2 separate regions of the Homo sapiens genome follow, and region 2 is linked to region 1. The links are contacts of gene promoters, found by promoter capture Hi-C in blood cells and fetal thymus (Javierre and others, 2016). All regions are on one chromosome and are shown on one strand. The core of a region is centred on a gene start or on the middle of the fragment in contact, and the rest is flanking DNA. Distances in the headings are between cores, read along the strand shown.

Evidence for each region. Contacts are between HindIII fragments. The CHiCAGO score rates a contact against its expected background, and 5 or more counts as called.
Region 2: a contact is called between the fragment with the promoter of KRTAP15-1 here and the fragment with the promoter of KRTAP20-3 in region 1, in 2 of 17 cell types (monocytes and neutrophils). The highest score is 5.4, in monocytes.

What each region holds. Positions count from the first base shown.
Region 1 is chr21:30,640,542-30,645,100 of GRCh38, reverse strand. KRTAP20-3 (keratin associated protein 20-3) reads right to left here and starts at 2,237. Exons shown (of 1, transcript NM_001128077.1): 1 at 1,965-2,237. The coding sequence starts at 2,212. The coding sequence ends at 2,078. The HindIII fragment of the contact is 10,269 bases long and covers 1-4,559 here.
Region 2 is chr21:30,437,885-30,442,443 of GRCh38, reverse strand. KRTAP15-1 (keratin associated protein 15-1) reads right to left here and starts at 2,169. Exons shown (of 1, transcript NM_181623.3): 1 at 1,575-2,169. The coding sequence starts at 2,116. The coding sequence ends at 1,703. The region is part of intron 3 of LOC105372772 (a long non-coding RNA gene); the gene reads left to right. The HindIII fragment of the contact is 9,658 bases long and covers 1,345-4,559 here.

The DNA of each region.
Region 1 (4,559 bases), core at 988-3,487:
CCAGGTATGTAGAACTGTCAGTTAATTAAACCTGTTTCCTTTATAAATTACCCAGTCTTGGATATTTCTTCAGATCAGAGTGAGAACGGACTAATACACTGTATTTCTGAAGTTACGACGAACTTTATCCAATTATTTTCTATATTTAAAACTCAGTTTTCTCCTGAGTTGTAGATTTTTGTAACAACCTGCCAGGAAAAATCTTTATTTGGCCCTCCCACAGATGACATTTACGTGTACTCAAGTAAACTTTTGCGGCTCCACTTTGATTGTCCCCCAAATGTTCCGATTCCCGTATCACATGTGCCATTAGTTCCACAGTCAGTCGTTGACTGTTCAAGTCCTTGTTTATTTTGTGCTCTGTTTTATTCCTTAGCCCCCTCCATTCTCATACCACATGGGCATGTTCTTTAACTTCTATCCCATAATAATCTATTTGATCTAGGCCTTCATAGGAATCTTAGTTGCCGCTTTTACATTAAGACCTTGCATTGGCTGCTTACACAGCCTCCAGAATGGTCGTTTGGTCTGTGGTCATACTCCTTGGCCACCTTTCCTTCAATTGGATGCCATAATTATTTGTATAAAACATGCGCTTCTTATTTTTATTTTATTTTTCCATGAGTTATTGGGGTACAGTTGGTATTTGATTACATGAGTAGGTTCTTTAGTGGTGATTTGTGAGATTTTGGTGCACCTGTCACCCAAGCAGTATACACTGCACCATATTTGTAGTCTTTTATCCCTCACCTCCTTCTCACCCTTCCCCCCACATTCCCAAAGTCCATTGTATCATTCTTATACTTTTGCATCCTCATAGTTTAGCTCCCACATATCAGTGAGAACATACGATGTTTGGTTTTCCATTCCTGAGTTACTTCACTTAGAATAATAGTTTCCAATCTCATCCAGGTAAAGGAAAATATTACAACTTTATAAAACATTATCCAGTACACCCATTGCAAAATATATATGGCCTTGATGTTCTAGTTTCTCTTCACTGCCCAGGGCTTCATTTCCTGCCAGTGACTTTGCCCACTGTTCTCTCAAGAAATAACATCAATTTATGACTTTGCAGTGCAATACTTTTTTCATGGCTTTGCATATTTGTTTCCCCTGCCTGGCATACACTTTACCTCCAATGTATTTTTCGTTGGTTAAAAATTTATTCAAATGTAACCTTCAATGAGAATATTTTTGATCTGTTTGCTCTACAATCTCGCTCTTTTGCATCCAAACATGAGCTTCTCCTCTGTGTTCCTACGTGGCTATTACATCACCTATCATGTTGTAGCATACATGTTTATTTAAACATTTGTTTTTCTGCTTAAAAACTCTTCTCCCATAAGTAACACTAAGACTTAACAGGAAGCCCTATATAGAAATTACTTAATGAGGACTTATTAAACAAGTGAGTAATTAATAAATTTAAAAAATGAATGACATTGGCCTGGCCAAAGTAAGTTTAATTAAAAATAAACCTAGAGCTCCCTACTCCTGAAACATATCAAAAAGTAATTTGCTTGGTAAATTATGAAAACACATCAGTTTGGAAGAGAAAAATGTAGTTAATCTGGGGCACTGATGTGGATTTAGTGTGAATTTAATGATGTGTGTTCTTTGCCTAGAATTAGATTGAATAACTAAGCATTATTTTTGTTTTTTTGAGATGGAATCTCATTTTGTTGCTCAGGCTGGAGTGCAGTGGTGCCATCTCGGCTGACTGCAACCTCTGCCTTTGGGTTCAAGTGATCCTCCTGCCTCAGCCTCCCCAGTAGCTGGGGCTACAGGCACCCACCACCACACCTGGCTATTTTTTTAACTTTTAGTAGAGATGGGATTTTGCCATGTTGGCCAGGCTGGTCTCGAACTCCTAACCCCAGGTGATCCACCCGCCTCGGCCTCCTAAAGTGCTGGGATTATAGGGAATCATTAAGAATTCTAATTGGGTTAAACAAATTAAAAAAAGTGTAGTAGAACAGCACCCCTGTCTCATAAGAAAATGGACCCAATTGTAGATATTATTCAGTCAGTGCCTGATAATAAGCATGTAGCATAATCATATTGGTGGCAGCAGTCAAATCCATACCCCACCACAGCCACATCTGTAGCCACAGTCCAGGATTCTAAAGGCACCAAAGCCAGAGGTATAACTATATTTACAGTCATAGCCATAGCCCAGTCCTCCGTAGTAGTTGCCATAGTAGCTCATTGTGTCAGGATTTAAGTCTCTAGCCTGAGAGGCCAGCATAAGTTTTAGTGCATAAAAACACTAAAATACTGGGTCTTTTATCAGTCTCAGTGGAGGTGTGACAAACCACAGGCACTCCTGACATTGTCATATAGACCAACCTGTATTTAAAAATCTCATTAATCTTGTATCTTTAGATTTTAAAAAAAGACTCCCTATCCTGATAAAATTGAGATTTTCTTCTCAGTATGTTATGATCCTGCCAAACAGCTGATAGACTTTAAAGGAAAAAAAAATACTGAGTTCCATGACCTTACTCACACTGATGCCGAATTTAACCTTTGTAGCTATGTTGGATGACATCACGTGGAGGAGGCAAATGCCATCCTCTTCCGATCACTTTGCTAATAATACCCTTCTTCTTATATGCATATTTAAATCTTAATCAACACAGCTGTGATGTTATCGCTATAAAACTTAGTAGCAAATACAGTGGACTCTTGAATACCATGAGTTTGAACTGCACAGATACGCTTATATTAAGCAGATTTTCTTCACCTCTGCCACTCCGGCAGCAAGACCAACCCCTCCTCCTCCTTCTCCTCCTCAACCTACTCAACATGAAGACAATAAGGCTGAAGACCTTTATGATGATCCACTTCCACTTAGTGAATAGTAAATCCATTTTCTCTTTTTCTTTATTTTCTTAATAAAATTTTCTTTTCTTTAGCCTACTTTATTATAGGAGTATAATCTCTCATTACAGGTAACATAAGCATGTATTAATCAACTGTTTATGTTATTGGTAAGGCTTCTGGTCAACAGTAGGCTATTAGTAGTTAAGTTTTTGGGGAGTCAAAAGTTATACTCAGATTTTCAACTGCGTGGAGGTTGGCACTCCTAATCCCTGCATTGTTCAAGGATCAACTGTGATTTATTCTGTACAAACTCCCACCAATCACATATTATTCTGTAGTTTTCCTATTGCTATGCTCTCTTAAAAGTAGTGCCCTTTTCTTGCCTGTTTAGTTCCTTCTTCTCCACACCTTAAGCATTCTTTAAAAAGTTGTTTGGTTGATTATCTTGTACCTGCACTGCAATGTAGATATGTTTCTTCGGAGAAAAGAAAAGCATTGAGAATCTTATCTGATTCCAAAGTCACAGGAACGTAAAGTAGACATTTTTGAGACCCAAATATAACAGAAGGCATGACTATTAATTTTTCTGTAGGGATATTGACTCTGTCTGTATCATGTACTTATATGTAGACTTAAGTTCTCAAAGGCAGGCTGAATCTAGATACTATCATTTCTTAAGATGATTAAAAATAATTGAAAATTTTCCTTCACCACTGACCTTTAGGGTAATCCCCGATTTGATCTGTTGTACTTCAGTCATCCACTTTTAGGCAGTGCTACCATATTGGCAGAACCATCTATAATCCAGGACTAATTTTTCCTTCTCCAACTGGAAAATCAGCATAAATTCATAGGTGTATGTTGAGAAAGAAGAGACAACTCAGCAGAGAGGAAACCATGAGAATCCAAGCCAATTGCTTCTGTAAGTTGTTTGTGCTTTCACAACTCCCTTAAGCCCAACCTTATGTTCCCCACCTTCACTTGATGACAGAGAGCTGGTGTGTATGCTCAACTTTCTGAATAAGAGGGCTAGAAAATTTGGGCTGAGATGATGGGGTTTTCTAGATATACAATCACGTCATCTGCAAACAGGGAACATTTGACTTCCTCTTTTCCTAACTGAATACCCTTTATTTCCTTTTCCTGCCTGATTGCCTTGGCCAGAACTTCCAACACTATGTTAAATAGGAGTGGTGAGAGAGGGCATCCCTCTCTTGTGCCAGTTTTCAAAGGGAATGCTTCCAGTTTTTGCCCATTCAGTATGATATTGGCTGTGGGTTTGTCATAGCTAGCTCTTATTATTTTGAGATACTTTAAGCTGATAGGCAACTTCAGCAAAATCTCAGGATACAAAATCAATGTGCAAAAATCACAAGCATTCTTATACACCAATAAAAGACAGAGAGCCAAATCATGAGTGAACTCCCATTCACAATTGCTTCAAAGAGAATAAAATACCTAGGAATCCAACTGACAAGGGATGTGAAGGACGTCTTCAAGGAGAACTACAAACCACTGCTCAGTGAAAAAAGAGGATACAAACAAATGGAAGGACATTCCATGCTCATGGGTAGGAAGAATCAATATTGTGAAAATGGCCATACTGCCCAAGGTAATTTATAGATTCAATGCCATCCCCATCAAGCTACCAATGACTTTCTTCACAGAATTGGAAAAAGCTACTTTAAAGTTCATATGGAACCAAAAAAGAGCCCACATTGCCAAGTCAA
Region 2 (4,559 bases), core at 920-3,419, 200 kb after region 1:
CTTTTCTTTTTTTTTTTTTGAGACGGAGTCTCGCTCTGTCGCCCAGGCCGGAGTGCAGTGGCACTGTCTTGGCTCACTGCAAGCTCTGCCTCCCGGGTTCACGCCATTCTCCTGCCTCAGCCTCCCGAGTAGCTGGGACTACAGGCACCCGCCACCAGGCCCGGCTAATTTTTTGTATTTTTAGTAGAGACGGGGTTTCACCGTGTTAGCCAGGGTGGTCTCGATCTCCTGACCTCGCGATCCACCCGCCTCGGCCTCCCAAAGCGCTGGGATCACAGGCATGAGCCACCACGCCCGATGGGGAGTTTCTTAAAGAAGTTTCTTCTAGACCAAACTTAGTTCCCTCTGTCCTTCACTGAGGCTAGACATACTCCACAGTAGTATGGCTCTCCCAGACCTCTCCAACTACCTCCCCATTATCTATCACTGGCATTTTCACCAATAAATCTTTTTTATGTTTAATCCCATTTGGCAGCTGCTTTTCAAGGGACTGCAATGGACACAATAGATCAGTAAGATTTGTTATTCTAAAATTAAGTGTAACTTATTTACTCTATTTTCAATAATGGGTTTATATTATTTTCTCTGAGTGTTTTTGAAGTTCTTCTTTGTGTTCCCACTGAATCTTGTCTTCACCCCATTATTCCATTTGCCATATAAGTTATAATTGTATTTGTGGGAACTTCCTGAAGCAGAGAATTTGTGTCTTTGTTCAGCGTAATGCTTGGTATATAATAGGACCTCAATAAATTTTTTTTCAATGAAAGACTAAAACAAAATTTTCTGAAGCAAATATATAAAAAATGCACTTATGAGGGGATTTAAATCTCTTAAAACATGTGATAGGTTATATATTTAAATTTTCTTTGCACTTTGTTTTCTATTCAACAAAATATCAATAAAACATATGAAACAAACAAAAAGTGTACCTAAGGAAGACAGTTGAAGATATGGGATGAATTCACTAAATGTATCATTTTTACTTATTTATTTATTTATTTTTTGACACAGAGTCCCACTTTGTTGCCCAGGCTGGAGTGTAGTGGCATGATCTCAGCTGACTACAACCTCCGTCTCTCAGATTCAAGTGATTCGCCTGCCTCAGCCTCCTGAGTAGCTGGGATTATAGGTGCACACCAGGCCTTGCTAATTTTTGTATTTTTAGTAGAAATGGGTTTTCACTGTGTTGGCCAGGATGGCCTCAAACTCTTGACCTAAAGTGATCCGCCAGCCTCAGTCTCCCAAAGTGCTGGGATTACAGGTGTGAGCCATCATGCCCAGCCTAAGTGTATTGTATTAACAAAATAAAATGGAATGCCAGAATTCATGCCAAAGAAATAAGCTTATTTAAAATATTGTAACTATTTGAAATATATTTGAGTGGAAGAGTTCTGGGAAAATAATGAGAGAAGGATTTTAGAAAGATGATAACAGAAATGATCCTGAGCATTGGCACAAAAATTGAAATTCAAGATATATCTCCTGTCAGATTTAGGAAGGGTCCTAGGTCAAGATTAATTTGTCCGTGTTCAATCATATACTTCCAAGAGGGCTAGGATGCTGAGTCCTACTGATGTAGATGGTCAACAATCACAGATATTGGACAGGCTGAGTGTTGCAGTTCCATAGAGTACAGAAATAATCATGAGAGAATGGAGAATATTCAGTAAGATGATCCAAAAAGGCGAGACCCAAAGGCTGGTTAGTAACAAGTTGCCTGGAAATTCCTGGATGAAAAGGTAGTTGGGTGGTAGAAGCTGGACCCACAGTCCAGAGATTGGAAGCCAGTGCTTCCACAACCAAGAGATCCAAGGCCAGTGTTTCCACATCCAAGGGATCTTATGTAGTTAGTCTGGCGGGGACTGCAGAAGATGGAATTCTTTGGGCAGTAACAGGATGTCTGATAGGATCTGGCCAAAGTGCAGGATGTCTGGCAGCTGGTGGGCTCACAGTAGGTCTCCTGACAGCCATTGTAGAGAGAGGAGCCCAGTTGGCAGGTATTTGGAGAATAGATGGCATTGCTGGGGTAGAACAAATTATAAGTGGAAACTGGATACCTCAGGTAACTTCCAAAACAGCAGGAGGAGAAGTTTCCAGAGCTGCAGTTGTAAGACATGTTAACAGGAGTTCTGAGCTCAGGTGATTTGCAGTGAGGAGCGTGTGTGTGTGAATGTTACCTTCTATACTGGACACTGACATACTCTAGCAATAGGTGTAGTCACAAGTGCCCATTCTAATGAGAACACTTAATTAGGCTGCAGTCAAAATGAAATATATTAACACTCAAAGAATTTTATTTATGAACGTAGACTTCTACATGAAAGAATTTCATTAGTTTTTCAAAGCAATTGTTCATGAAACAAAAATGCCATTTCTCATTCATCTTGCTTAGGTAGAATGAAAACCACCATAATTGTACCTATAAGACTGATGCTTCAAAGGGTCGGGCGCGGAGGCTCACACTTGTAATTCCAGCACTTTGGGAGGCTGAGGCAGGCATATCACGAGGTCAGGAGTTCCAGACCAGCCTGACCAACATGGTGAAACTCCGTCTCTACTAAAAATACAAAAATTAGCCGGGCATGGTGGTGGGCGGCTGTAATCCCAGCTACTCAGGAGGCTGAGGCAGGAGAATTGCTTGAACCCGGGAGGCGGAGTTTGCAGTGAGCCGAGATCGTACCACTGCACTCCAGCCTGGGAGACAGAGCAAGATTCCATCTCCAAAACAAACAAACAAACAAAGAAACAAAAAAACAAAGAAAAAAACTTGATGCTTCATTCATCCTGTCCTTCTAGAAATTGGATCAAACGGCTAAGACACTGAGAGTTCTGGTATTTGTAAAGATCTGAAAAATACCTTGTAATCTGGAAGGGACTTTGATCTTGCTCCAATTTTATAAATTCAATTGAGAACAGAAAAAAAATTTCAATATCTATTCCTTCTTTCAATTCTTTGAACCATTAGAAGAAATAACCCAATAACAATCCTTATTTGGTAGACATGCTAAATGAGTGCCTAACATATTTAAGTTTAGATTTCTTATAACACAAGTAGCTAAGTCACTCTTGTGCACATGAAGAGTTAAGAATGAAGGGTGAAATTTTTGAACAAGTGCTTTGAAGTTTACATTGTAAAACTACTAAAGAAATCCCTTACTCAAAGGTTGATTTGCTTCTTCATAGAAGTCATCAATAAGTTTGATTATAAAAAACCGTTTATCCCCATAAGGTATAAGTAATTTTTGGTCATGTTGATGTTACTGAGAGGAAAATAATAAGCACTATAAGTAAAATGTAAATCGTTAATCTTTTCCTTTCTTTTCTCTCAGAGGGTGACATTTTTACCAGAGAGGGAAAAGAAAAGCAAGAAATGAGGGAAATGTCTATCCCATGTAGTATTCACAGAAAGATAAAATATGTAAAGAATTCATAGTAACAAATGACTTTATAAATTGAAATAAAGGGGTGGGAAGGATACATGATGATAATGTGTAATTGAGAGTGAATGCCTTTGTGACCTCTGATGTATCAGCTGACATATATATTCTGCCTAGAGTACTAGAGTAATGAGGATTTTTCTGGATTCGCTCAGAAAGTTCATCAGAGCAAACTGTAAATAGATATATGGCACGGATGCAGGAAATGCCTTAACCTGTGGGAATGGGCAAACCTCTTAAGACATCCATCTTCAGAACTGATGTATTCTACAATGGAAGTGAACTGAGACTCCCTTCTATGAAGAATCAGGATTACTAGGTAAAAGTTTTAGGGGAAGATTCAGCTAAAAATCTAAAATGAGTTGCTCTTGCAATTAATGATATTTCCATACTGAGGGCCCTGGGAAAATCTAATTAGGATGTTGTAAGTGGAATTCCAATCTGACAGGAGGCTGGAGATAATTGCTCAACTTCCTTCCAAATTGTAGACTTTATAAGTCTAAACTTTTGAGGAGACAAATTGATCTCCAATCATGTTTCATTTATTAAGTAACATAGTTTGTTCTGTGTTTCTGGAATAAACAATTCTTATTTATTAGGCTTCTCAATTATTAATAGCCAAAAAGCATTCTAGTAGATTCCAAATCTTCCTGTTGTGTTTGTCAATAAAATATTGAATATCAAAATAGCCACACAAATATTTAGCCCGCCTAAATTGAAGTTGCTTTCTTGTTTTAATGTCATCCATTCCTATATAAGCAATTTCAGTAGAAGAATACTCTGAGGGATCAGATATTAAGTAATGTCGCACATTCTTTTCTCAAAGTATGGATTTTTTTGCATTCAACTACTTTCATTCAGAAGTGGAATGGAAACTTTTTTCTAAAAATGAGCAAATCAAACAACACAGAAACCACAGCAAGATAAATCTCAATCTCTCCTCTTCCTCAAGATATCAGTCTCATTACACCATTACATCAAGGTGAAATACAAGTCACAGAACAAGAGAAAATATGACCATTATTTTAGAAGTGTTGTAATACCTGTCAGAAACACCTGAAAATAATTTACGTCAAAGTCATGTATGTTATTTTTGAGGCAAAGGAAGAATCTTCCTAAGAT